Linked DNA regions of Homo sapiens: regions 2, 3, 4, 5, 6 and 7 are each linked to region 1. The links are contacts of gene promoters, found by promoter capture Hi-C in blood cells and fetal thymus (Javierre and others, 2016). All regions are on one chromosome and are shown on one strand. Each heading gives the region's core, a stretch centred on a gene start or on the middle of the fragment in contact. The rest is flanking DNA. Distances are from core to core; before and after follow the strand shown.

Region 1 (3,266 bases), core at 767-3,266:
TGAAATAAGAACCAGCTTGTTATCCACTCTTTTTTTTTCTTTCTCAGCAACATAGGTTTAGGCTGAACTTATGTTCATATAGCTGCACAAATCTCCACGGGTATGAATATAAATCTATCTATTCAAATAGACTCTAAAGGTTTCTTAGGTTATTTCTCTTCTTTCTAGAACTTAAGTAAGGCTTTGATCACCACTGATAATACATCCGTTAGTTAATGCGTGTAGAGTTTCCAGTCTAAAGGCAAATAAAAAGTGAAAAGGGGCCGGCGCAGTGGCTCACTCCTATAATCCCAGCACTTTGGGAGGCTGAAGCAGGCAGATCACCTGAGGTCAGGAGTTCAAGATCAGCTTGGCCAACATGGCGAAACCCCGTTTCTACTAAAAATACAAAAATTAGCCGGGCGTGGTGGCAGGTGCCTCTAATCCCAGCTACTCGGGAGGCTGAGGCAGGAGAATGGCTTGAACCCAGGAGGTGGAGGTTGCAGTGAGCCGAGATCGCACCATTCACTGCACTCCAGCCTGGGTGACAAGAGCAAAACTTCATCTCAAAAAAAAAAAAAAAAAAAAGTGAAAAGGCAGGAACGCTGTTGTTCACCTGCTGTTTTAGGAATTTTGCTCACGTACAGTTCAAAATATTAAGAAGCTGAAAATAAAGTACCTGGTCATGTGTGGAAAAACTTACAGCTAAAAGGTGAGATGAACTGGGTCTAGAAGGTCGGATTCACGTGAAATTAAAAGGGCAACGAAAGCCAGAACTTAATTTCTTAAAAAAAGTTAAAACAGGCCGGGTGCAGTGGCTCATGCCTGTAATCCCAGCACTTTGGGAGGCCGAGGCTGGCGGATCACAAGGTCAGGAGTTCGGGACCAGCCTGGCTAACAATGGTGAAACTCCGTCTCTACTGAAAATACAAAAATTAGCCGGGCGTGGTGGCGCGTGCCTGTAGTCCCAGCTACTAGGGAGGCGGAGGTTGCAGTGGGCCGAGATCGCGACACTGCACTCCAGCCTGGCCGACAGAGCAAGGCTCCGTCTCAAAAAAAAAAAAAAAAACAGTTAAAACCCTCAAAATAATCCCACTTGTTAAAATACAAAACCTGAAACCATTTCAGTTTCTTCTGCAAAATGAGTTGGAGAGAGTAGGGTTGAACCAGGCATGCTCTTTCGGGCCTTTCGACGCTGACATCCCGGGATATTACACCAGGTTCAAGATACCAGCTTGCGGAAAGAGAGCTGCTAAACTTGACCATATGCTTTTTGCACGACATTCGACAGCTGTCCCTCCCTTCACCAGCTCTTTTAAGGCTGCAAATATATCTGATTCACGTGAGAGTCCCTACAAGTTAGTACAACGTCAGGCCCCAAGGAGGCGCCCAATAAATGTTGGCATTGCAGGGCCAGATCCCGAGTTCCAGTTCAGAACCCTGCTGAGGTCAGGCTTCCTCCCTGCCTCCCGCCCCTCACCACACCCACTCACTCCCCCAAGTAATTAAGTCTAAACTGGGGCCTGTGCAGTGATTGGCCGCGCCGGGTCTCACTGCGGATGAACTTGACTTGTTCCAATGATCTGTGACAGACATCTGCAGACAGCGCCCTTAACAGAATTAGGGTCAGGCTGGTATCAAACCCCAGGAACGCCAGGCATTGCCTCAAAGTAGATGCAAACCGTTAAATCTTCCAGGACTCAGAAGGACCAGAGAGAGCCGGATACCTCTGGTTAGCTACGCGGTCCCCAGTAAAGCTTATTCCCCTCTTCCTCCCAGTGTGTCTTGTTGCCAGAGCAACTGTGGGCGTCACCGAGCTGACGGGCGGAAACAGAACAGAAAGAGTACACGTCCCCAGCTCATTGATAGGGCCATTGCGCAGACGCATTAACTTTTCTGAGTTGTAGTTGAGTCTGTTGATGCAGTCCGCGTCTGCGCATTAGTTGTTACGCGCCCTGGCCGGCCTCAGCGCCTGCGCAAATTGGCACACCGGGGAGGGCGGAGTTAGGTCACGAGGGTGCGCATGCGCAAACAGCACATCCGGTGTGGTCGACGGGTCCTCCAAGAGTTTGGGGCGCGGACCGGAGTACCTTGCGTGCAGTTATGTCGGCGTCGGTAGTGTCTGTCATTTCGCGGTTCTTAGAAGAGTACTTGAGCTCCACTCCGCAGCGTCTGAAGTTGCTGGACGCGTACCTGCTGTATATACTGCTGACCGGGGCGCTGCAGTTCGGTTACTGTCTCCTCGTGGGGACCTTCCCCTTCAACTCTTTTCTCTCGGGCTTCATCTCTTGTGTGGGGAGTTTCATCCTAGCGGGTAATGGTTCTATAAGTGATCATAATAATAATGTGTTACTTTGGTGTGCTGCTTTTGTTTTCATAGTACTCTATATCAGACCACCGCCCCTTGAAGTTATGAGAAGAGCCTGCATTGCCCTTTTGTTGTGAATGGGGAAATTGAGGCTCAGAAAGCTTAGATTATATGCCTAATACCAAACGGCTCCGTAGGAGTTGGACTTAAAAGTCTAAAGAAACCACCTTCGTGCCGCTACTCCACTTGGTGATCCACTTCACTTAATATTGGTCCGGGGAAAACCCTATTCCAACTTTAACTTAGGTTTAACACAACTCTAAAATTAGTAGACTTTTCAAATGAAAAACCCAACCTTGAATCATCTCTGTCATCTTGGCCTAATCATTACCAATCTCCGGTGAAACGTTTCAATGAAAGTGCAAAGAATATAAATACTGGTGCTTTTCTTGTTGAATCATCCTTTACTTGATTTTGCCTTTTAGCTGCTACTACTTTTTTTCTTGTTGAGGAAGCTGTTATTTCACTGTCCTGAACCCAATTTTTGTTCACATAACTCTATTTTAGCCTTATTTTTCCTTTTGATTCCAGGATTTGGTAACCTTGTAGACTGCTATATTTAGCGAGAACAGTCTCCATCAATTTTTGTTAAAATCTGACTTTTCTTGCCCAACGGGGATTCAGTGAATACTGAAAACAGGCGTGGCCTCTATCACTGGTATCACCTGCTACTTTGACTTTGAAAACATGCCAGCATTCATGGTTTCTTTTCAGTGTGATCATCAGTCAGGTCATCAGTTGTATTTTCAGTCCAATATGAGGCATTATGGTAAAAGCTTTGGCACATGTTCTTTATCCGTAAAGAGTTTATGGTCTAGTTGGGGTACAGACAAAATACAGCATTGGAATTGTCTGGAGGCCTGGCACAGTGGCTCATGCCTGTAATCCCAGTACTTTGGGAGGCCGAGGTAGGCAGATC
Region 2 (3,266 bases), core at 357-2,856, 430 kb before region 1:
TGTGAAAGCAGTAGTAACCACAAGCTTGGTGACCCTTGTCCTTTTGGTCCTCCAGTGCATATGTGTGGAGGGGAGAGGGTAGTGATGGTGATTTTATAGCCTCCTGGTCAGGAAGCAGCACTAAATTGTCACTGGAATGTGTGGGTGGGGAAGAGGCCCTGCTGAGAGCAGAGAGATGGCTGATTTATCACACCCAGCACTGTTGGGGCTGGGGGGAGTTCCCAAGCTATGGTGGCAGCAGATGGCAAGGCCTTCTGTTAAAGAGAAGACAGGGGATAGAGGAGGTTGATGGGAGAAACCTTTAAAAAATGGGAGCGGAGGACACAAACAATACCACCTTGTATTTAGTCAGAAGGCAGAAAGTGGTTGGTGAAGGTGACAACCCAGTGTCATGTTTTGAGACTGAGAGGTTTGGAGAAGTCATTCACAGAAGAAGAGGGGGTAAACCCTCCTCTCCTGTACTGCAGCTACCTTCCCTTCCCCCTCAGCCTTGTGCAGTCTTCGTATTGATTGATGAGGGCTGTCGGCCAGGAACTGATCGAGGCTTGTTAATTGCATTTGTCAAATGCAGGGAAATTGGGAATTAGTGAAATCGGAGAAGGGGGTTTGGAAAACAAATGACTCGTGCCTAAGGAAATTTTTTGCAGGAAAGTATCTCAGGAGCCCCTGCAGTCAGGGAGCTGCTGGTGTGGACTCAGACTACATGGTTGAAATAGGCAGGAGCTGGGCGGGGCACAGTGGCTCAGGCTTGTAATCCCAGCACCAGCACTTTGGGAGACGGAGGCAGGCAGATCACTTGATGCCAGGAGTTTGAGACCAGTCTGGCCAACATGGTGAAACCTGTCTCTACTAAAAATACGAAAAATTAGCTGGGTGTGGTGGCAGGCACCTGTAATCCCAGCTACTTGGGAGGCTGAGGCAGAGGTTGCAGTGAGCCGAGATGGTGCCATTGCACTCCAGCCTGGGCAACAAAAGCAAAACTCCATCTAAAAAAAAAAAGAAAGAAAGAAATAGGCAGGACCCAAGCTACATCTTCCTTCTCGTAGACTGTTGGGAAATGGTTAGCTGCGTGAGAAGCACAGGTAGGTCATCTTCCTCCCACTTAGGACATTGGTTTGCAGATCTTAAAAAAAAAAAAGAAAAAAAAAAAAGCACTCTTAGGAGAAATCCCAATGCCTGAAAAAAAAATCAGAGGTTGAAATTGAGCTGAGAGGTCCAGAGCCTCCACTATTGAGCTTCCCCATCCAGCCACTCCCCGCAGCACCCTTTGTTAGCCCCATACACATACACAGTCCCTGGCACTTCTTGGAACCTCAAGGAACACAATTTGAACACCTCTTCCCTGGGAAATAGCCTTAAGGATAGAAAGAGAATTGAAGATTGGAATTTCCTTACATGACCCCAGAGAGCATAAGACCCCAGCTTTGGTCCATGAACAGAAAATTCATTCTGGAGAGAAGAGATGATCGTGAAACAATGCAACCCTTTGCCCTGTTTCTGTCTCACACTTTGCTTTGGCAGTGGTTTAGCTGTTTAACGGAAACACCTATTCTGCACTGGCAGAGTCCTTATGTTAGAAGAGAAAATGCATGTTCTGTTCTGGCATATCCCTGTTGATCTACCTTCCTGGGTCTTGGGTAAAAGACTCATTTAATGGAAGAGCTCGATTTGTGGTAGGTTTTTCTGGGAAGAAAGTAGAGCAGAGGTAGGGAAAAACTGCAAGTCTGTAGGCTAGTGGTATCCACCCTGTGCATTTGTGATTTCTTGCTGATGGTTACTGGGGGGAAATTGGCTTTGCAGCGATGTGTGTCTCCGCTTGTGTGGGAATGATGGATGCCGCATAGGATTGGAGAGATGTTTTTGAGTGGAGTGTACCAGTTCAGGGACTCCCATCAGATTCATTTCCCAGTACAGTCCTCTTGACAAAGGATGATGGAAAAGAAATCGCCTTAAATAGCTGGAAGATTAATTTCTCTCAGCAGTTCCCAGGCGTCCAAGGGACTGGGCTCTTTAAGTGATGTCTGACAACTTCTCTTCCCTCAACAGATAACTCAGTAACACCAAAATCTGGCTCCTCGGGGTAGGTGATGGGACTAATCTGATTAAATAGGGAGCAAATACTCCTGGAGGCCCCTTGCTTTCTCTTGCTAGCCTTCCAGCATCTGCACACCAGGCAAGGGAGGGCTGTGGGGAGTAGCAGTGCACTGTGGGGTGAGTAGAATGTTCATGAAGGAAGGTGAAAAGGTAGGTGAGGATGTGGGGGAGGAGGGAGGAAGGGCACAGTTAACGCAAATCAAAGACTGAAGGATAATAGTTACTGAGTGTTCCTCTTTAGGCAAAACCAGAAGGTCAGTGTCTCTTGATATCCTCCTCAGCTAGCAAATGAGAAAACTGTCAGAGCCATTTGGGGAGTGGAAGGTCACATCCTCCGAGGGGAAATAAAATAACTGATTTATTCTGGCCCACGGATTCTATGTGGTCTGTTAGGGGAAGGAAGAAAGAGGTGGGATGAAAAGAGAATAAAGTAGAAAAAAAAAGGTGGATGGAAATTTTGAGGGGAGCATTTCCCTTGTGTCAGGAGTAACAAGGATAGGATGATTGGGTTAGGAGAGAATCTACATGACCATATCTAATTTTCGGTGGATACATTTAGGTTTTTAATTTTCTTTTATTTTTGTTTCTTTTGTTAGATCTTCCCCTGACCTGCTCCCAGGGCTATAACAGATACGGACTTTGAAACTGTATGGAGTATAGAGCAGTGCTCTATAATTTAAAATATACATATATTGCAACCAAGCACCTCTGCTGTTTTGCGTTTGTTTCTTGTTTGTTTTTATAAATTCTAGTTTCCCTTCAGGAAGCCAGAATCATACTGGGAATGCTTTAATTATAGTGGGCAAGAGGGAGCTCAAACAGCAATCAGAACTGCCCTGATCAGCAGCTGCTGCCACCTTCTACCTGACCTGGGCCACCCCTCTTTTTCCCCCCAAGTCAGCCTCCCGTGCTCCCCAGGCGTGGCTTCAGAGCCAAGTTCTGGTTTCCAGGAGCTCTGCCCCCACTGAAGCATTTCAATAAAAAACATTTCTAAAATGTCCCCTTTGCAGTTGTTAGTGGGTCAAGCAGAAGAAATTCTACCCACGTCAGCTTCTTGGGCTTATTTGACCCAACTCATTTCTCCCAGAAGCTTTTGCCTCTGAGTTAGGTGCCAAGCTTAAGCTGGTATTTAACTCTTTATGGTCCAGATTAAGCTGTCATCAGCCATAAAG
Region 3 (3,266 bases), core at 435-2,934, 400 kb before region 1:
CCCAATCTTTACCAAAAACAAACAAAAATAACAAAAATTAACTGGGTGGGGTGGCATGCATGACGTAGTCCCAGCTACTTGGGAGGCTGAGGTGGGAGGATTGCTTGAGCCTGCGAGGTGGAGGTTGCATTGAGCCAAGATCGTGTCACTGAACTCCACTGTGGGCAAACCTTGTTTCAACGAAAAATAAAAAAATACTTGTAATCTTCCATCAGAGTGGCAATAGGGGTAGATTGTTGTTGTTTTTAAATTTTTTTTTAAATAGAGACTGAGTCTCACTATGTTGCCCAGGCTGGTCTCAAACTCCTGGGCTCAAGCAATCCTCCTGCCTCAGCAGGAGGCCTCCCAGAATGTTGGGATTACAGGTGTGAGCCACCACGCCCAAGAAGGGGTAGGTTTTATTTGGTGGAGGGAGCGGGGAGACACAGAAGCGATTGGAGTTGTCTTTTTCCAGTGGGAGATATTTGGGAGGAGTTAGTGTTGGAGATGGAGGTGGGCAAAGAAAGCTAAACCAATTAGCCGGCCATGGTGATGTGCACCTGTAGTCCCAGCTGCTCAGGAGGCTGAGGCTGGACGATCACTTAAGCCCAGGAGTTGGAGGCTGCAGTGAGCATGCATGACCATGCCACTGCCCTCAAGCCTGGGTGACAGAGCGAGACCCTGTCTCATAACAAAATCATAATAAAATAAATAAATAAAAAGAATCCTAACCAAAGAGGAGTGAAGATGCTAATGCCTATGCCAAGAAAGCCCAGCATCTAGGCCAGGCACGGCTGCTCACGCCTGTAATCCCAGCTCTTTGGGAGGCCAAGGCAGGTGGATCACCTGAGGTCAGTAGTTTGAGACCAGCCTGACCAACATGGAGAAACCCCATCTCTACTAAAAAGAGCTGGATGTGGTGGCACATGCCTGTAATCCCAGCTACTCGGGAGGCTGAGGCAGGAGAATCGCTTGAACCCAGGAGGCGGAGGTTGTGGTAAGCCGAGATTGTGCCATTGCACTCCAGCCTGGGCAACAAGAGTGAAACTACATCTCAAAAAAAAAAAAAAAAGCCCTCATCTAAGTAGTGATCGCCAACCTCCCATTCAATAGTGTTAGGGCAGAAAAACGGGCTGGGGACCACTACTCAGAGGACCCTCCTTCTTGCTCCCTTCCTTCCCTCCCCGCCAGGAGCCTGTGTGGCCTACTTCCTTACTAAGAGGCGTGAGTACCGCAACTCCCTGAACCCCTTTAAAGGCCTGAAGGAAAAAGAGGAGAAGAAACTTCGAAGTCGCCGATATCGGGTAGGTTTCTAGGCCTTTCTTTCAAGATACTAAACTCTAAACCCTTTCCTAAGTGGGAAGGGCCAGAGGACATGGCATATGAGAATAGGGTTGAGAGCCAGGAATGTAGGAAGATAGAGAAGAACAGTGAGCCAATGCTAAGATCTGACTTGGGGACTGGGTTCACTTAGGCACAGATTTTACACAGCCTTCCCCACCAAACCTTTTCCCCAAATCTAATCCATAGAATGTTTACCTTCCTAATCTATCTCCTGGGTTCCTGCCTTAGCTTTTTGCCAACCGATCCAGTATCATGAGGCATTTTGGACCTGAGGACCAACGTCTGTGGAATGATGTGACAGAGGAACTGATGTCAGATGAAGAGGACAGTCTTAACGAGCCAGGTGTGTGGGTGGCCCGCCCTCCCCGTTTCCGGGCCCAGCGCCTCACAGAGCTCTGCTACCACCTGGATGCTAACTCTAAGCATGGCACCAAAGCCAACCGTGTGTATGGGCCTCCCTCAGACAGACTGCCTTCTGCTGAAGCCCAGCTCCTTCCACCAGAACTTTACAATCCTAATTTCCAAGAAGAGGAAGATGAGGGAGGGGATGAGAATGCACCTGGCTCCCCATCTTTTGACCAACCCCACAAAACCTGCTGTCCTGACTTGAACTCATTCATTGAAATCAAGGTGGAAAAGGATGAATAAAATCTACAGCCAAGAATAACTCTGGCTTCCGCCATGCCCCATGTCTCAGAAATAGGTGGCCATGGGGCTTCACAAAATAATGAGATGCTCTGTGCAGTCTGAGAAAGCAAATTTGCCTCTTTTCTTAACACAGTCTCTACTGGGGAAGCAGAACACTGGTGGGATAAAAACTTATCTAGAAGGGGAGAAACTCCCTCCACTGTGAACAGTAAGCCAGAATATGCTTATTCCTCAGCATAAACAGTATCTCGGAGAAGCCTGGGATGAGAAAATGAGGAGGATGGGTCCAAGAAACATGAGGCCTTCTTGACATATGCCCTGTCTCTGAGTTGTTTCTGCCCCTGCCCAGTTCCACCCAAAGCTCTGAGGAAGCAGCCCAGGTTGTACCTTTTGCTTCCCTGTGACTACTTGTCTTGCTCTGCAGTGGAAACCGAACATGACCAGTGCAGGTTAATACCGCCACCTGGTGGGCAGTTTCAGTCATGAGCTTGAGTCTTCTGACCAAGGGAACACAAGTTCTATCACTATTGGGGAATTGGGTTCCTGATATAATAGCTATTGTTTATTGAATTACATGAGGAAAATTTTACTATTCCTATCTTACAGATGAGGAAATTAAGGCTTAAAGAGTTCCCGTGTCTCACCGGCAGCCTCTCTCTCACTATGTGACCAAGCAAAATACACAGCTTTGTAGCTGTTTCTTGGTCCTGTCAGCCAAGCTGTATTTTGAGGAAGGGGTGTGCATTTTGGATGGATTGAAAAGCAAAAATGGCTTTACATTTATTCAGTCTTATAACAAACATTGATCGCTTTACTAGGTGTCAGGTACTGTGCTATGGATACATTGTTGATAAGGTTGGATGCTGTTCAGAGATTTTTTTAGTTTAGTCAGGAAGCCAGGCAGTGGAGTAGGCAATGAAATGAACTGTGATAAGGGTGACCATGGTGGAGTGTAGTGCACTATGGCAATATACAGCAGGGGTAGCTAACCTACTCTTGCAGTCTGGAAAGGCTTCTTCTGAGAGGGTGTAATGTCTAAACTGGGGAAGAGTTAACCAGAAGGAAAGGGGAGGCTAAGAGAGTGTTCCAAACAGGGAACTGCAGGTACAAAAGTCCAGGGGCAAGAGAGAGTACAGACAAGGTCCAGTTCTACTGCAGACTTTTGGGGAAGGGATAATGCTAGAGGAGAGGCTGGAGAGTGAGACAGACCTCATAATACAGAGTACAGACTTCAACCCAAGGGCAGTGAGAAATCATTGAAAGTTTGTTTTAGCAGGGAAATAAAACGACAGGTT
Region 4 (3,266 bases), core at 235-2,734, 370 kb before region 1:
CCAGCCTGGGCGACAGAGCGAGACTCTGTCTCAAAAAACAAACAAACAAACAAAAATCCAAGGAAAGCTGGATGCAGTGGCTCATGTCTGTAGTGCCAGGACTTCGGGAGGCTGAGGCTCAAGAAGATGGCTTGAGGCCAGAAGTTCGAGACCAGCCCAGCAACATAGTGAGACCCTGTCTCTACAAAAAATTTAAAAAACTACTGGGGCATGGTGGTGCATGCCTGTAGTCCCAGCTACTTGGGAGGCTGAGAAGGGAGGATCCCTTGAGCTAAGGAGTTTGAGGCTGCAGTGACCCATGCACTGCAGCCTGGGTGACTGAAACCGGTGCCACTGCACTTCAGCCTGGGTGACAGTGAGACCCTGTCTCTAAATTAATTAATTAAAATCCAGGGAAATACTTTTATCACCCTGGCACACGCTTTCAAGTTATAGCAGCATACTCAATCATTATAACAAGAATTGCCCACCTTGTGCTTCATGTCTAGCTTTTCAAAATGATACTGGTCTTCCCCTCCTGAATCAGTTTCCTTTATAGTCTCATATTCCTTTAAAAATGGTTTCAATCTGTCCCATTTTTGAGCCAAATTTCTTAGCTTTTCTTTGAGCTCTAAAATTTTCTATCAGGCCTACTTCATATACTAGTTCACAATAGTGTCTCAAAGTAAAACCAGGCTCATTCTAGTTTGTATAACAGAAATTTCTGTGAACAGACAGGCAACCCTTGAAGCCTCAAGGGCCTAGCTTTGAAATCCCCTTGGAGGTGTTAAGCAATTGAAAAAATGGCACATTATGAACATTTGTTCTAAAATTTTCATTTGATGTCATAGGTTGATTACATATTTTTTTATCCACTTGTTTTCTTCTTAAATTATGTGCTTACAGTAGGCATGAAATTTTCTAGCTTAATCATCAATAGTTGTAGCTCTGAATACCTTCATTTTCCAGTGAACAATCTTGAAAATAAATCTAAAATCTCTTGACTGCATGTAAAATTTTTTATTTCTGAAACTAGTTTCTCAGTCCATATAATATCAGAATGTATTCAAATACTTTCAAAGTGATATGGCTTATTTTTCAAGTTTTTCTAAATTATTGATCAGTTAAATATGATTCCAGCCAGTCACGGTGGCTCATACGCGTAATCCCAACACTTTAGGAGGCCAAGGCAAGTAGATCACTTGAGCCCAGGAGTTCAAGACCAGCCTGGAAAACATAGCAAGATACTGTCTCTACTAAAGACAAAAAAGTAACTGGTCTTGGTGGCATGTGCCTGGAATTCCAGCTACTTAGGAGGCTGAGGTGGGAGGATCACCCGAGCCTGGGAGGTCAAGGCTGCAGTGAGCTGTGATCATACCTCTGCGAGACAGAGAGACACCCTGTCTCCAAAAAAAAACAACAACAGTGATTCCAAGTTCCAATGCTATTTTAATGTCTTAGCTTTGCAACTGGTTATTGAAGCCCATATTTTTAGTGAGAACATATTCTACTCAAAGATTTCTATTGGTATCATAAATACTCACAGTACTCACAGTACTAAATACTAAATACTAGTACTAAAATACTCAGTACTAGTACTCACAGTACTAAATACTCACCTGGAATTTCTCTCTGGAATTTTTGTTTCCCGGCCTTAGTGTGGGAGGCAAAGTGCCTGCAATGTTCTTACAAATCTCCATTCTCTGCAATTCTAAACAATGCAGCAAAAGAATGTCCAAGTCTGAAAGGTTATGTAGACTTTTTCTCAGACTCTCATTTACATTTATCACTAAATTAAAAACATACATGAATAGTTTTTAGAAGACCAGGTCAACAGCAATGTCTGAAACGGTAGAGTTGGATTGAGGGCAGGAGTTATGTCTAATTTATCTTCCTACACCCTGACCTCCCACCCTTACAGGAGTCTAGCTCAGGAATACTTGAGTATGTTCTTGGCTTTATCATTAAAGAGCATTTAAGAAGTGAATGATTGTATTTTGCATATGGCATAACAGAAGGTGAGATGAACAACACTAATGAAAGGACAGGCCTATAAAAGCCAAGCATTCCATGGAATAAACAAAGCGATGTAAGGTATTTGTAGTGTGGTTGTGGCCGAAAATTCGTTTTTCAACAAATAAGTGCCTCACTGGAACTCGGAACCAACAATTAAGTATGGAGATAGGTACCCTGGGGCTGTTAGAAGCACCTCCTTAAATATAAACCCAAACAAATTAAGGTTTTGTTTTTGTTTTTTGTTTTTGTTTTTTTGAGACAGAGTCTTGCTCTGTTGCCCAGGCTGGAGTGCAATGGCACGATCTCGGCTCACTGCAACCTCTGCCTCCCAGGTCCAAGCGATTCTCTTGCCTCAGTCTCCTGAGTAGCTGGGATTACAGGGCACCTGCCACCACTCCCGGCTAATTTTTGTATTTTTAGTAGAGACAGAGTTTCACCATGTTGGTCAGGCTGGTCTCGAACTGCTGACCTCGTGATCCGCCCACCTCGGCCTCCCAAAGTGCTGGGATTACAGGCGTGAGCCACCGCACCCGGCCCAAATTAAGGTTTTAAATAGGATTTCATATTTATCAGCAATAAAATGACATTAACTTAAAAATGAATTGGTCGGGCGTGGTAGCTCATGCCTGTAATCCCAGCACTTTGGGAGACCAAGGTGGGAGGATCACTGGAGCCCAAGAGTTCGAGACCAGCCTGGGCAACATAGTGAGACCCCAACATAGAGAGTACATCTTTATTTGATTCAATTTACATAAGATTCTAGAAAGTCCAAACTATTCTATAGTGACAGAAAACAGAGTTGATGGTTGAGTAGGGCAGGGAGAAGCTAGAGAAAAGAATTACGTACGGGCACAGGTAAACTTTTAGAGTGTGATACATATGTTCACTATCTTGATCTTGGTGATGGTTTCACACATATATAGTTATATCAAAATGTATTGAATTGTACACTTTAAATACTGTGTGCCAAAATACCTCAATGAAGCTGTTTTTTAAAATTCTGGCAAAAAAGAGGGAAAGAGAAGGACAGAGGGAGAGAGAGAGAGAGAATATGAATGAATTCTAGGTCCTTTCTTACAATTCTTTCTTGTTCAAGGACACCGGATGGTGTCTGATTATAAACTTTTTTTCCCAGCACTTCACTGCACTCTTTTTTTTTTTTTTTTTTTTTTTGAGATGGAGTCTCTCTCTGTCGCCCAGGCTGGAGTGCAGTGGTGCAATCTCCGCTCACTGCAAGCTCCGCCTCCTGGGTTGACGCCATTCTCCTGGCT
Region 5 (3,266 bases), core at 569-3,068, 340 kb before region 1:
AGTAGAGATGGGTTTCTCCGTGTTGGTCAGGGTAGTCTCGAACTCCCGACCTCAGGTGATCCGCCCGCCTCGCCCTCCCAAAGTGCTGGGATTACGGGCGTGAGCCACTGTGCCCAGCCTGGCCTTCATGGTGCATTTTTTAAATGCTTTGGTTTTTCCGACTTTCCTTTCCTCCTCCCCCTGCCCCGACATTATTTTGCTCTTGTTGCCCAGGCTGGAGTGCAGTGGCGTGATCTTGGCTCACTGCAACCTCCGCCTGCCGGGTTCAAGCAGTTCTCCTGCTTCAGCCTCCCGAGTAGCTGGCCGAGTAGCTGGGATTACAGGCGCCTGCTACCACGTTTAGGAGAGACGGGGAGTTTTCATGTTGGCCAGGCTGGTCTCGAACTCCTGACCTCAGGAGATCCACCCGCCTCCGCTTTCCAAAGTGCTGGGATTACAGGCGTGAGCCACCGCGCCCGGCCGGTTTTCCGGCTTTCATTCTTTTGGGGCACTTGCATTGCACCCAGGGTTCCCCAGAACTTATCCTACCCCACACCCTTTTCGTATTTCCTATGGCTCTGTCCCCAACGAGCTATGGTGATCTCAGTCGCATGGCCTCAGTTCTTTTCTTCTAGCGACCTCCATCCAACTTTCTATTACACAGCGCCCCCTAGACGTTCAATTCAGCATGACCAAACCCAAACCCTGATTTCCCAAACCCTCTTTCCGCATTTCTTGCTCACTGCATGGACAGAATCCTAGGCATCACCCCCTACTTTGCTTTCTCAGGACTCCTTGCCAGTCGGTCCCTAAGTTCTGCCAGCGGCGCCTGCGTGGGGTCTCTTGTACCGTGTTCTCCTCTCCATCCTTGCTGCCGAGCCCTCAACACCAGTGGGCCCCCTGCCTTCTGGAGTTCCCATTTACCTCCCTATGTCTTTCCTTGCTTCCTTCCTTTCCATCTCTAGCAGCTAATGACATGAGAAAATGTAGATTCTCTCTGGCCTCCATGCCAGCCAATTTCATGACTGCTGCCCACTGTAATTAATGAATTCCTTTTCTCTATCTTGAGGTGTGTGTGTGTGTTTAGGCGTTTATTTACACCTTTTGTGTTTGAAACACAAAACACTACTTCCTAGAATCACTAGGAAGTAGTAGCTGAGTTAGCAGTTTATTTTAATATGTAACATAGTAAGGTGACAAAGCTCATTTTAATAGCACCAGCCATTAACCCAGTTTTCTCAGTGTTCATATGGACGTAAATAATGACACAAGAAAAACACTTTTGAGGGTAGTTACGGGAAAAGCTGACATTACATGGCTGCATAACCCAACCGACTCAGGATCTGATAATGAAAGCGTGAAGATAATAAAGAAGCATCAAGCTGCGAAAGGAAAGGAAAATTACAAAATGCTCACGCAGCGAAGCTGCGAGGAACCCCACCGAGCCAGCCAGGAGTCGAACCTGGAATCTTCTGATCCGTAGTCAGACGCGTTATCCATTGCGCCACTGGCCCTGAGATGGCACTGTTTCTCTCCGTGATGGTACTTCAAGGTTATACTGCAGGGTTTCATGGGCGGTGTAGTCTCTCAACGGCGTTCTTCAGATAGACTAAGCATTCTGGGAGATTGAAGTTCGTCAGGAACCAGACCCTGAGATTGGTGGATCCATGCCGTACGCCACTGTGCAGCCCGCGGATTGGCAGGAAAAGCCACTCCCCATCCCTCCTGTTCGGGAGCTGTGGCAGACGCTCTGGTTGTTAAGGCGACTCGTCCCGCCTTCTGGGGCACTAGTTTGACTTTGTGATTGGCTACTAGTATCAAGGAATCCCGGCGTGGACAGCGCGAGGAGAAAGATGGCGGCGATGGCGGTCGGGGGTGCTGGTGGGAGCCGCGTGTCCAGCGGGAGGGACCTGAATTGCGTCCCCGAAATAGCTGACACACTAGGGGCTGTGGCCAAGCAGGGGTGAGGGCCGGACCTCCACGAGCGGAATGCGGGGTCCGAACTCGGGGACGGAGAAGGGCAGACTAGTCATCCCGGAGAAGCAGGGGTGAGGGGGTCGGCTAGGATGAGGAGGGGAGAGACTATTACTCTTTGGAGGGGAGGAGCCTCGGACCCAGTAACGTGAGGAAAATAACTTGTGGGAGGCCTGTGGTCACTGAGTCCCAAAGTTGGGAGAGTTGTTGGGTAAACTCTAAAGGGCCCTGGAGGTCGCGATTATTGTCTGGGAGTGGGAGGAGGTGTTAGGGGGCAAGGGAGAGAAGAGGCTAATTTTGACGGGGGAGGCATGGGCAGAACTGGGGCAAATCTGGATGTGATGGTCTTGGAAACATACTGACACCTGAGGAGAAAAAAATTCTACTTGTGGATATCCATCATTTTCTCCTTACTCATATGTCCCATGGCTGTGTTTTAGGGAGAAATTGAGGCACAGTACAGCAGAGTTGATATCCCCCAAGGTGGTCTGAACTCAGCAGCCTAGTAGGCTGAACTGATGGCAGCTGAAAGGGCTGTGCAAAATCAAGATAGCCTAAATCCAGTTGCTTGGCTCTCTGGCACTGCTGCTGTCTTTACATGATTCTGGGTCTGTCGCGGTTGTAGGTTTGATTTCCTCTGCATGCCTGTCTTCCATCCGCGTTTCAAGAGGGAGTTCATTCAGGAACCTGCTAAGAATCGGCCCGGTCCCCAGACACGATCAGACCTACTGCTGTCAGGAAGGGGTAGGGACCATCCCATATGCCCCTTAATTATTAGAGGCAATAACAACTTCTGCTTTATCGGGGCCCTCATTCTCCTCCTTTTCTGACTTGGATATATTTGTTAGTCCCTGGGATATAGATAACTTGTTTTCTCCTTGCTTCTCTATTCTGCATCAGGCTATCCCATGTCTATGTAGAAAAAACCTTTGTCTCTCATTTCTACTCTTGATTCCCAAAACTAAAAATTGAACAAGTAAAGTGCTGAACCTTATTCAGTATTTGTCTTTCTTGGGTGGGGGAGTGCAGACTGGAATACGCTAATTGTGGGAAAGCTTTCTCCATGGATTCGTCCAGACTCAAAAGTGGAGAAGATTCGCAGGAACTCCGAGGCGGTAAGACTGTTTGACTTCTCTGCTGGATTTTTCTAACCAAGCTGGGTGGGGAGAGTGGTCCCCTCCCATCCCCAATAACTTGGTAAATTAACTGATAGAATGAAATTAAAGCTATTAGGCTGGGTGCTGTGGTGCACACCTATAATCCTAGCACTTTGGGAGGCTGAGGCTGTAGGATCACTGGAGCTCGGGATTTCG
Region 6 (3,266 bases), core at 361-2,860, 320 kb before region 1:
TTTTTTTTTTTTTTTTGAGACGGAGCCTTGCTCTGTCGCCCAGGTTGGAGTGCAGTGGCGCGATCTCGGCTCACTGCAAGCTCTGCCTCCCAGCTTCATGCCATTCTCCTGCCTCAGCCTCCCGAGTAGCTGGGACTACAAGCACCCGCCACCACGCCCGGCTAATATTTTGTATTTTTAGTAGAGACAGGGTTTCACTGTGTTAGCCAGGATGGTCTCGATCTCCTGACCTCGTGATCCGCCCGCCTCGGCCTCCCAAAGTGCTGGGATTACAAGCATGAGCCACCGCGCCCGGCCTTCTTGTGCCCTTTTAAAATCTTTTTCTCCCAGCCCTTCCCCTTACTTCTATCCCTAGGCAACCATTGATGTGCTTTCTGCTTTCTTTGATATAGTGATTAGTTTGCTTTTTTTTTTTTTTTTTTTTTTTTTTTGAGACTGAATCTCACTCTGTCTCCAGGTTGGAGTGCAGTGGCACAATCTTGGCTAACTGCAACCTCCGCCTCCTGGGTTCAAGTGATACTCCTGCCTCAGCCTCCCGAGTAGCTGGGCCTACAGGCGCGTGCCACCACGTCCAGCTAATTTTTGTATTTTTAGTAGAGACGGGGTTTCACCATGTTGGCCTAGATGGTCTCGATATGTTGACCTCGTCGTTGACCTCGTGATCTGCCCGCCTCGGCCTCCCAAAGTGCTGGGATTACAGGCATGAGCCACCGCGCCTGGCCTAGTTTGCATTTTTTAGAATTTTATGTAAATGGAATTGTTCATTGTGTACTTTTTGTGGGGGGGGCTGGTTTCTGTCACTCCGTGTAATTATTTTGAGATTCATCCATGTGTGGGTTGATAATTCCAGACCAATAACATTTGAATAATTTATCCTATTGGTTTTCTTTGGTATTTTCTGTTTTTCTTATTTGACAAACTGGTGGTAGACAGCCTGGGGAGAGGCAGTTTCTAGATGTGAAAGCTTGGGGAGGCACGTTTTACCTTGCCTGCCAGAGAGAAAGGTTTCAAGATGGGATTAGTCGAGCCTGTCTTAATCATCATATTTCTGAGTTACCTAAACTGTAGTTGGTATTGGTTAGAAAATGCTCAGGGATAAGGCCCTAATTATTGGTGTTCAGGGTATGCGGAGAGGAAGACGTTAGGGCAAATCTGCATTTTGGTGTTGCTTTGACTTGCTTCTGATTTTTAGTCGTGCCTCTTTATCTTTTTATTGGACATAATGTGCCTATATTTGTTTATTATTTTTTCGTTTTATATTTTTCTCACATCTGTAGCAGCCAGGCCTGTTTTTATTATTTGAGTTTAAACCAGGTATTTATTCAGAATTTTGAACAGTAGAGTGGAGACCTAATGTCTATTTTATAGTGAACAGTAGTTTGGCCACCATCATTTTCTCTTCATAGAACAGGATCAGTGTTGTATTTTGTTTCTTCCTAGATACTCAGTTTTCTTCTATATCCTTGACTATTTTTTTATGTATTGTTTTTTGTGTTTTTTGTTTGTTTGTTTTGTTTTTGAGACAGGGTCACACATTGCTGCCCAGGCTGGAGTACAGTGGCGTGATCTTGGCTCACTGCAACCTCCACCTTTTGGGTTCAAGTGATTCTCCTGCCTCAGCCTCCTGAGTAGCTGGGATTACAGGTGTGTGCCACCACACCCAGCTAATTTTTATATTTTTGGTAGAGGGGGTTTCGCCATGTTGGCCAGGCTGGTCTCAAACTCCTGACCTCAGGTGATCTGCCTGCCTTGCCCTCCCAGAGTGCTAGGATTACAGGTGTGAGCCACTGCGCCCGGACTATCCTTGACTGTTCCAAGCCACAAAGTCGAACTAGTTCAGATCTATAGGGTGTAAAAATAAACCTAGAGTAAGTGACAGCTGGTAAGGTTTCTTTGCAGTTCAAGAAACAGAACTGAAATCTGTATATCCTGAAGTCTCTTTCTTGGAGTGGGAAAGAAATGTGTGGTGCTGGAAAGGGAGGAAAAATATAAAACAGATTCTTACATATTAATATCCTCTCCCCAGATCTGACAGGATGGCATCTGATGACTTTGACATAGTGATTGAGGCCATGCTGGAAGCTCCCTATAAAAAAGAAGAGGTAATATTTTCCACCTCACTCCTGGAATTGGGTTAATGAGAAAGAGTAGTTGTCGATCATCACTTTCAACTTTCAACATTTTATGAATCCTCTTTCCCTGCTTATTTATTATGTAGAATAACTAATCATAAAAGGCATAGTCTTAGTAAGCTTTGCTGGAGACTATGGTTAAGAGCCATACTTTTAGAGACAACCTCAGAAACCGGAGTGGGCACATAATGTGGTGTTGGTAATCTGTGCTTTGCTCAAAACTCGAAGTGACACAGTAGAAAGTCACTGTACCTCAGACCTAGCACCAATTTCTTTTTTTTTTCTTTTGAGACAGAGTCTCGCTCTGTTGCCAGGCTGGAGTGCAGTGGCACAATCTTGGCTCACTGCAACCTCCGCCTCCTGGGTTCAAGCCATTCTCATGCCTCAGCGTCCCAAGTAGCTAGGATTATAGGCAAGCACCACCATGCCCAGCTAATTTTTGTATTTTTAGTAGAGACGGGGTTTCACCATGTTGGCCAGGATGGTCTTGATCTCCTGACCTTATGATCCACCCACCTTGGCCTTCCAAAGTAATGGGATTACAGGCGTGAGCCACTGCGCCCGTCCCAGTTTCTTTTTTAATATATTTTTTATAGAGACAGGGTCTTGCTATGTTGCCTGGGCTGGTCTCGAGCTCCCAGGCTCAAGCGATCTGCCTTGGCCTCCCAAAGTGCTGGGATTACAGGAGTGAGCCACTGCACCTGGCCCACTTAACAGCAATTTGCTTGCTTGCTTGCTTGCTTTTCCCTCCCTCTGCCCTCTCCTCCCATCCCTCCCTCCTTCTCCCTTCCTTTCCCCCCCACCGCTTTCTTTTTTCCTTTCTTTTTTTTTTTTTTTTTTTTTTTTTGAGATGAAGTTTCACTCATTGCCCAGGCTGGAGTGCAGTGGCGCGTTCTCAGCTCACCACAACCTCTGCCTCCGGGTTCAGGCGATTCTCCTGCCTCCCAAGTAGCTGGGATTACAGGCATGTGCCACCACCCCTGGCTAATTTTGTCTTTTTAGTGGAGATGGTTTCTCCATGTTGGTCAGGCTGGTCTGGAACTCCTGACCTCAGGTGACCCGCCTGCCTTGGCCTCCCAAAGTGCTGGGATTATAGGTGTGAGCCACTGCGCCCAGCCTCTTTTTTTTTTTTTT
Region 7 (3,266 bases), core at 221-2,720, 270 kb before region 1:
ACTCCCAAAGTGCTGGGAGCCACCGCACCAGGCCCATGCCCACTAATTTTAAAAATTTTTTTGTAGGATGGGACCATGCTATGTTGTCCAGGCTGGTCTTGAACTCCTGGCCTTAAGCAATCCTCCCACCTCGACCTTCTAGAGTTCTGGGATTACAGGTGTGACCCACCATGCCTGGCTCTTAAGATTCTTAAAAACTATATCGTTAGGCTGGGTGCTGTGGCTCATACCTGTAATCCCAGCACTTTGGGAGGCCGAGGTGGGTAGATCACATGAGGTCAGGAGTTTGAAACAGCCTGGCCAACATGGTGAAACCCTGTCTGTACTAAAAATACAAAAATTAGCCAGACATGGTGGTACGTTCCTGTAGTCCCAGCTACTCGGGAGGCCGAGGCAGGAGAATTGTTTGGACCCAGGAGGCGGAGGTTGCAGTGAGCTAAGATCATGCCACTGCACTCCAGCCTGGGTGACAGAGTGAGACTCTGTCTCAAAAAAAACCAAAACCAAAACCAAAAACCAAAAACCCCAAAAACCATATTGTTAGACTAAATGGTTTCCTGAGTACCACCTTAGATCCTTCTGATATTAACAAAGCATGTTACACTCAATCTTGGCTTTGTCTTTATACCATGTTTTCCTGAGAGTGCCCTGAATTTGATACTTGCCCAGAAGCTATTTAAAAAATTTAACATCATTTACTGTCTGGAGAGGCTGAGAATTTTAAAATCCAAAAATTCCTGGCTCTCTTTTTGTTTTTCTTTTGAGACGGAGTCTTGCTCTGTCGCCAGGCTGGAGTGCGATGGCGAGATCTCGGCTCACTACAACCTCCGCCTCCTGGGTTCAAGTGATTCTCCCGCCTCAGCCTCCCGAGAGTTGGGACTACAGGTGAGCGCCACCATGCCCAGCTAATTTTTGTATTTTTAGTAGAAACGGGGTTTTACCATGTTGGCTAGGATGGTCTTGATCTCTTGACCTTGTGATCTGCTCGCCTTGGCCTCCCAAAGTGCCTGGATTACAAGCGTGAGCCACCATGCCCGGCCTCCTGGCTCTTTTTAAGTGGTATTTTTTTTTCTTAGCTATCTATCTCGCACTTTACTATAAGCAGCAAAGAAGAAACCAGGTGTTAACTTCAACATTCTCCCTGAAAATCTCCTTAGCTAGATTTCCCATTCATTAATTACATTTTTTACTTTCCATGTTACTACACACTAACTATAGTTGCTAAACTTGCTGAATAACGAGAATCCTTTTTCTTCCAGTTTCTTTTTTTCTTTCTTTTTTTTTTTTTTTTTTGAGATGGAGTCTTGCTCTGTTGCCCAGGCTGGAGTGCAGTGGCACGATCTCAGCTCACTGCAAGCTCCGCCTCCCGGGTTCATGCCATTCTCCTGCCTCAGCCTCCCGAGTAACTGGGACTACAGGTGCCCACCACCAGACCTGGCTAATTTTTTGTATTTTTAGTAGAGATGGGGTTTCACTGTGTTAGCCAGGATGGTCTCAATCTCCTGACCTCGTGATCCGCCTGCTTCGGCCTCCCAAAGTGCTGGGATTAGAGGCGTGAGCCACCGCGCCCGGCCTCTTCCAGTTTTAAAACACATTTTCCTCACTTTCCTTAAGTCTTCACTGGCCGCCTCTTCAAAGACCATCATGTCTGGGTATGGTGGCTTGTGCCTATAATCTCAGTGACTTAGGATCAGTTGAGGCCAGGAATTTGAAATCAGCCTGGGCAACATAGCAAGACCCTGTCTTTAAAAAAAAAAAAAAAGAGGCCACTGTGGTTCTACTAACTGTCGCGTCCAGGCATTTTAGACTTTCACTAACACTCTTCTCAAAGTCTTTCCAGCTTCTGCCCTTTGCCGAATTTCAAAGTCATTCTTACATTTTAGTTGTTTGTCACAGCAGCACTCCACTTTTAGTACCCAAACCTATTAGTTATCTATTGCTGAATGAGAAATCATCCCAAAATTTCACAGCTTAAAATATAAAATAAACATTTATTGTTGTAATCATTTTATATTGGCCAGGAATTTGAAAGTGACTTACCTAGATGAACCTGGCTTAGGATCTCTCATTAGGTTGCAGTCCAAATGTTGGCCAGGACAGTAATCATCTGAAGGTTTGACCGTGGCTGGAGGATCTGCCTCCAAGATGGCTCACTCATATGCCTGGCAAGTTCATGCTGGCTGTTGGCAGGAGGCCTCAGTTCCTTACCTGTGGACCTCTCTATAAGACTTCTTGAGTGTCCTGCAGCATGGCAGCTAGCTTTCTTCAAAATGAGTGATCCAAAAGACAGCAAAACATATTTTTGATTTTAGATTTTAGATTTTTATAATGTCTTTTATTGCTTATTATTCTTGGAAGTCACACACTGTCACTGCTGCCAGACTCCATTAGAAACAAGTCACTGGCCAGGCAGGGTGGCTCACACCTGTTATCCCAGCACTTTGGGAGGCTGAGGCAGGTGGATCACCTGAGGTCAGGAGTTCAAGACTAGCCTGGCCAACATGGTCAAAAATTAGCCTGGTGTGGTGGCATGTGCCTGTAGTTCCAGCTACTCTAGAGGCTGAGGCAGAATTGTTTGAACCCGGGAGTCGGAGATTGCAGTGAGTGGAGATCACGCCACTGCACTCCCAGCCTGGGTGACAGAGCAAGACTCTATCTCAAAAGAAAAATAAATAAAAAAATATTTATTTAATATATAATAATAATGAGTATTTATAATAATATATAATAATAATGAGTATTTACACTGTACTAAAATACCACGTCCTTCCTTTACGCCACTGCAGTCTTCCTTCCTTTCAGTTAGAGTATGAGCCAAAGTCTTTACAATGACTTACAGGGTTTTATGGGATGTCACCCCATGACCTGTCTGATCTCCTCTTCTATTGCTGTCTTCCTTGATCATTCTGTTCCAGCCACACTACCTTGTTCACTAAGACATGAATATGGGAGCCATGTACTCACCTCAGTCTTGGCATTTACTTCTGCTTTTGCTTGGAATGCTCTTCTTCCTGAGAACCACTTGGTTTGTTCCCTCATATCCTCAGGTTCTTGGTGGGGCCTTCTCTGACCCCAGTGTATAAAATTACACCCCCAACAATGTCTATCTCCCTTCCTCAATTAATTTTTCTCCTTAGCACTTAGCACTATCTAATAAACTATTTTATTAATTCATCACATTTATCCCTGCTCTTCTCACAAGAATGTATGTTCCATGAGGGCAGGGTCTATTTGTTTACTGCCGTATCCTCAGTGCCAAAAACAAT

What was found. The method cuts DNA at HindIII sites, captures the fragments that hold promoters and counts their contacts. A CHiCAGO score of 5 or more calls a contact.
Region 2: a fragment that was not itself captured here is called in contact with the fragment with the promoter of DAD1 in region 1 in 2 of 17 cell types (naive CD4 T cells and total B cells); the score reaches 5.5 in naive CD4 T cells.
Region 3: a fragment that was not itself captured here is called in contact with the fragment with the promoter of DAD1 in region 1 in 9 of 17 cell types (total B cells, naive B cells, naive CD8 T cells and 6 more); the score reaches 11.3 in total B cells.
Region 4: a fragment that was not itself captured here is called in contact with the fragment with the promoter of DAD1 in region 1 in 2 of 17 cell types (total B cells and naive B cells); the score reaches 7.0 in total B cells.
Region 5: a contact is called between the fragment with the promoter of PRMT5 here and the fragment with the promoter of DAD1 in region 1, in 3 of 17 cell types (naive B cells, total B cells and naive CD4 T cells). The highest score is 10.4, in naive B cells.
Region 6: a fragment that was not itself captured here is called in contact with the fragment with the promoter of DAD1 in region 1 in 17 of 17 cell types (naive B cells, total B cells, erythroblasts and 14 more); the score reaches 22.9 in naive B cells.
Region 7: a fragment that was not itself captured here is called in contact with the fragment with the promoter of DAD1 in region 1 in 17 of 17 cell types (total B cells, naive B cells, erythroblasts and 14 more); the score reaches 24.1 in total B cells.

The regions. Positions count from the first base shown.
Region 1 is chr14:22,587,974-22,591,239 of GRCh38, reverse strand. It overlaps DAD1 (defender against cell death 1), which reads left to right and starts at 2,016. Exons shown (of 3, transcript NM_001344.4): 1 at 2,016-2,293. The coding sequence starts at 2,083. RefSeq lists enhancers at 1,736-2,377, 2,378-3,019. The HindIII fragment of the contact is 712 bases long and covers 1,739-2,450 here.
Region 2 is chr14:23,022,169-23,025,434 of GRCh38, reverse strand. No RefSeq gene overlaps it. Among named protein-coding and RNA genes, the nearest start is that of PSMB5, 11 kb to the left of the region's middle. RefSeq lists an enhancer at 229-318. The HindIII fragment of the contact is 3,160 bases long and covers 27-3,186 here.
Region 3 is chr14:22,985,920-22,989,185 of GRCh38, reverse strand. It overlaps C14orf93 (chromosome 14 open reading frame 93), which reads left to right. Exons shown (of 7, transcript NM_021944.4): 6 at 1,171-1,283; 7 at 1,552-3,266. The coding sequence ends at 1,971. All of the region lies in intron 1 of AJUBA-DT (AJUBA divergent transcript), which reads right to left. Among named protein-coding and RNA genes, the nearest start is that of AJUBA-DT, 3.2 kb to the right of the region's middle. RefSeq lists a silencer at 2,346-2,455. The HindIII fragment of the contact is 3,625 bases long and covers 1-3,266 here.
Region 4 is chr14:22,960,534-22,963,799 of GRCh38, reverse strand. No RefSeq gene overlaps it. Among named protein-coding and RNA genes, the nearest start is that of HAUS4, 5.1 kb to the right of the region's middle. The HindIII fragment of the contact is 5,455 bases long and covers 1-3,266 here.
Region 5 is chr14:22,927,928-22,931,193 of GRCh38, reverse strand. It overlaps PRMT5 (protein arginine methyltransferase 5), which reads left to right and starts at 1,818. Exons shown (of 17, transcript NM_006109.5): 1 at 1,818-1,942; 2 at 2,579-2,697; 3 at 2,983-3,068. The coding sequence starts at 1,833. It overlaps PRMT5-DT (PRMT5 divergent transcript), which reads right to left and starts at 1,585. Exons shown (of 3, transcript NR_110002.1): 1 at 1,442-1,585. TRR-ACG1-3 (tRNA-Arg (anticodon ACG) 1-3) reads right to left here and starts at 1,493; the gene lies at 1,421-1,493. RefSeq lists a silencer at 1,365-1,454 and an enhancer at 1,865-1,974. The HindIII fragment of the contact is 19,261 bases long and covers 1-3,010 here.
Region 6 is chr14:22,910,164-22,913,429 of GRCh38, reverse strand. RBM23 (RNA binding motif protein 23) reads left to right here. Exons shown (of 14, transcript NM_001077351.2): 2 at 2,027-2,102. The coding sequence starts at 2,037. Among named protein-coding and RNA genes, the nearest start is that of RBM23, 7.4 kb to the left of the region's middle. The HindIII fragment of the contact is 1,288 bases long and covers 967-2,254 here.
Region 7 is chr14:22,856,063-22,859,328 of GRCh38, reverse strand. No RefSeq gene overlaps it. Among named protein-coding and RNA genes, the nearest start is that of LRP10, 14 kb to the left of the region's middle. The HindIII fragment of the contact is 4,412 bases long and covers 1-3,266 here.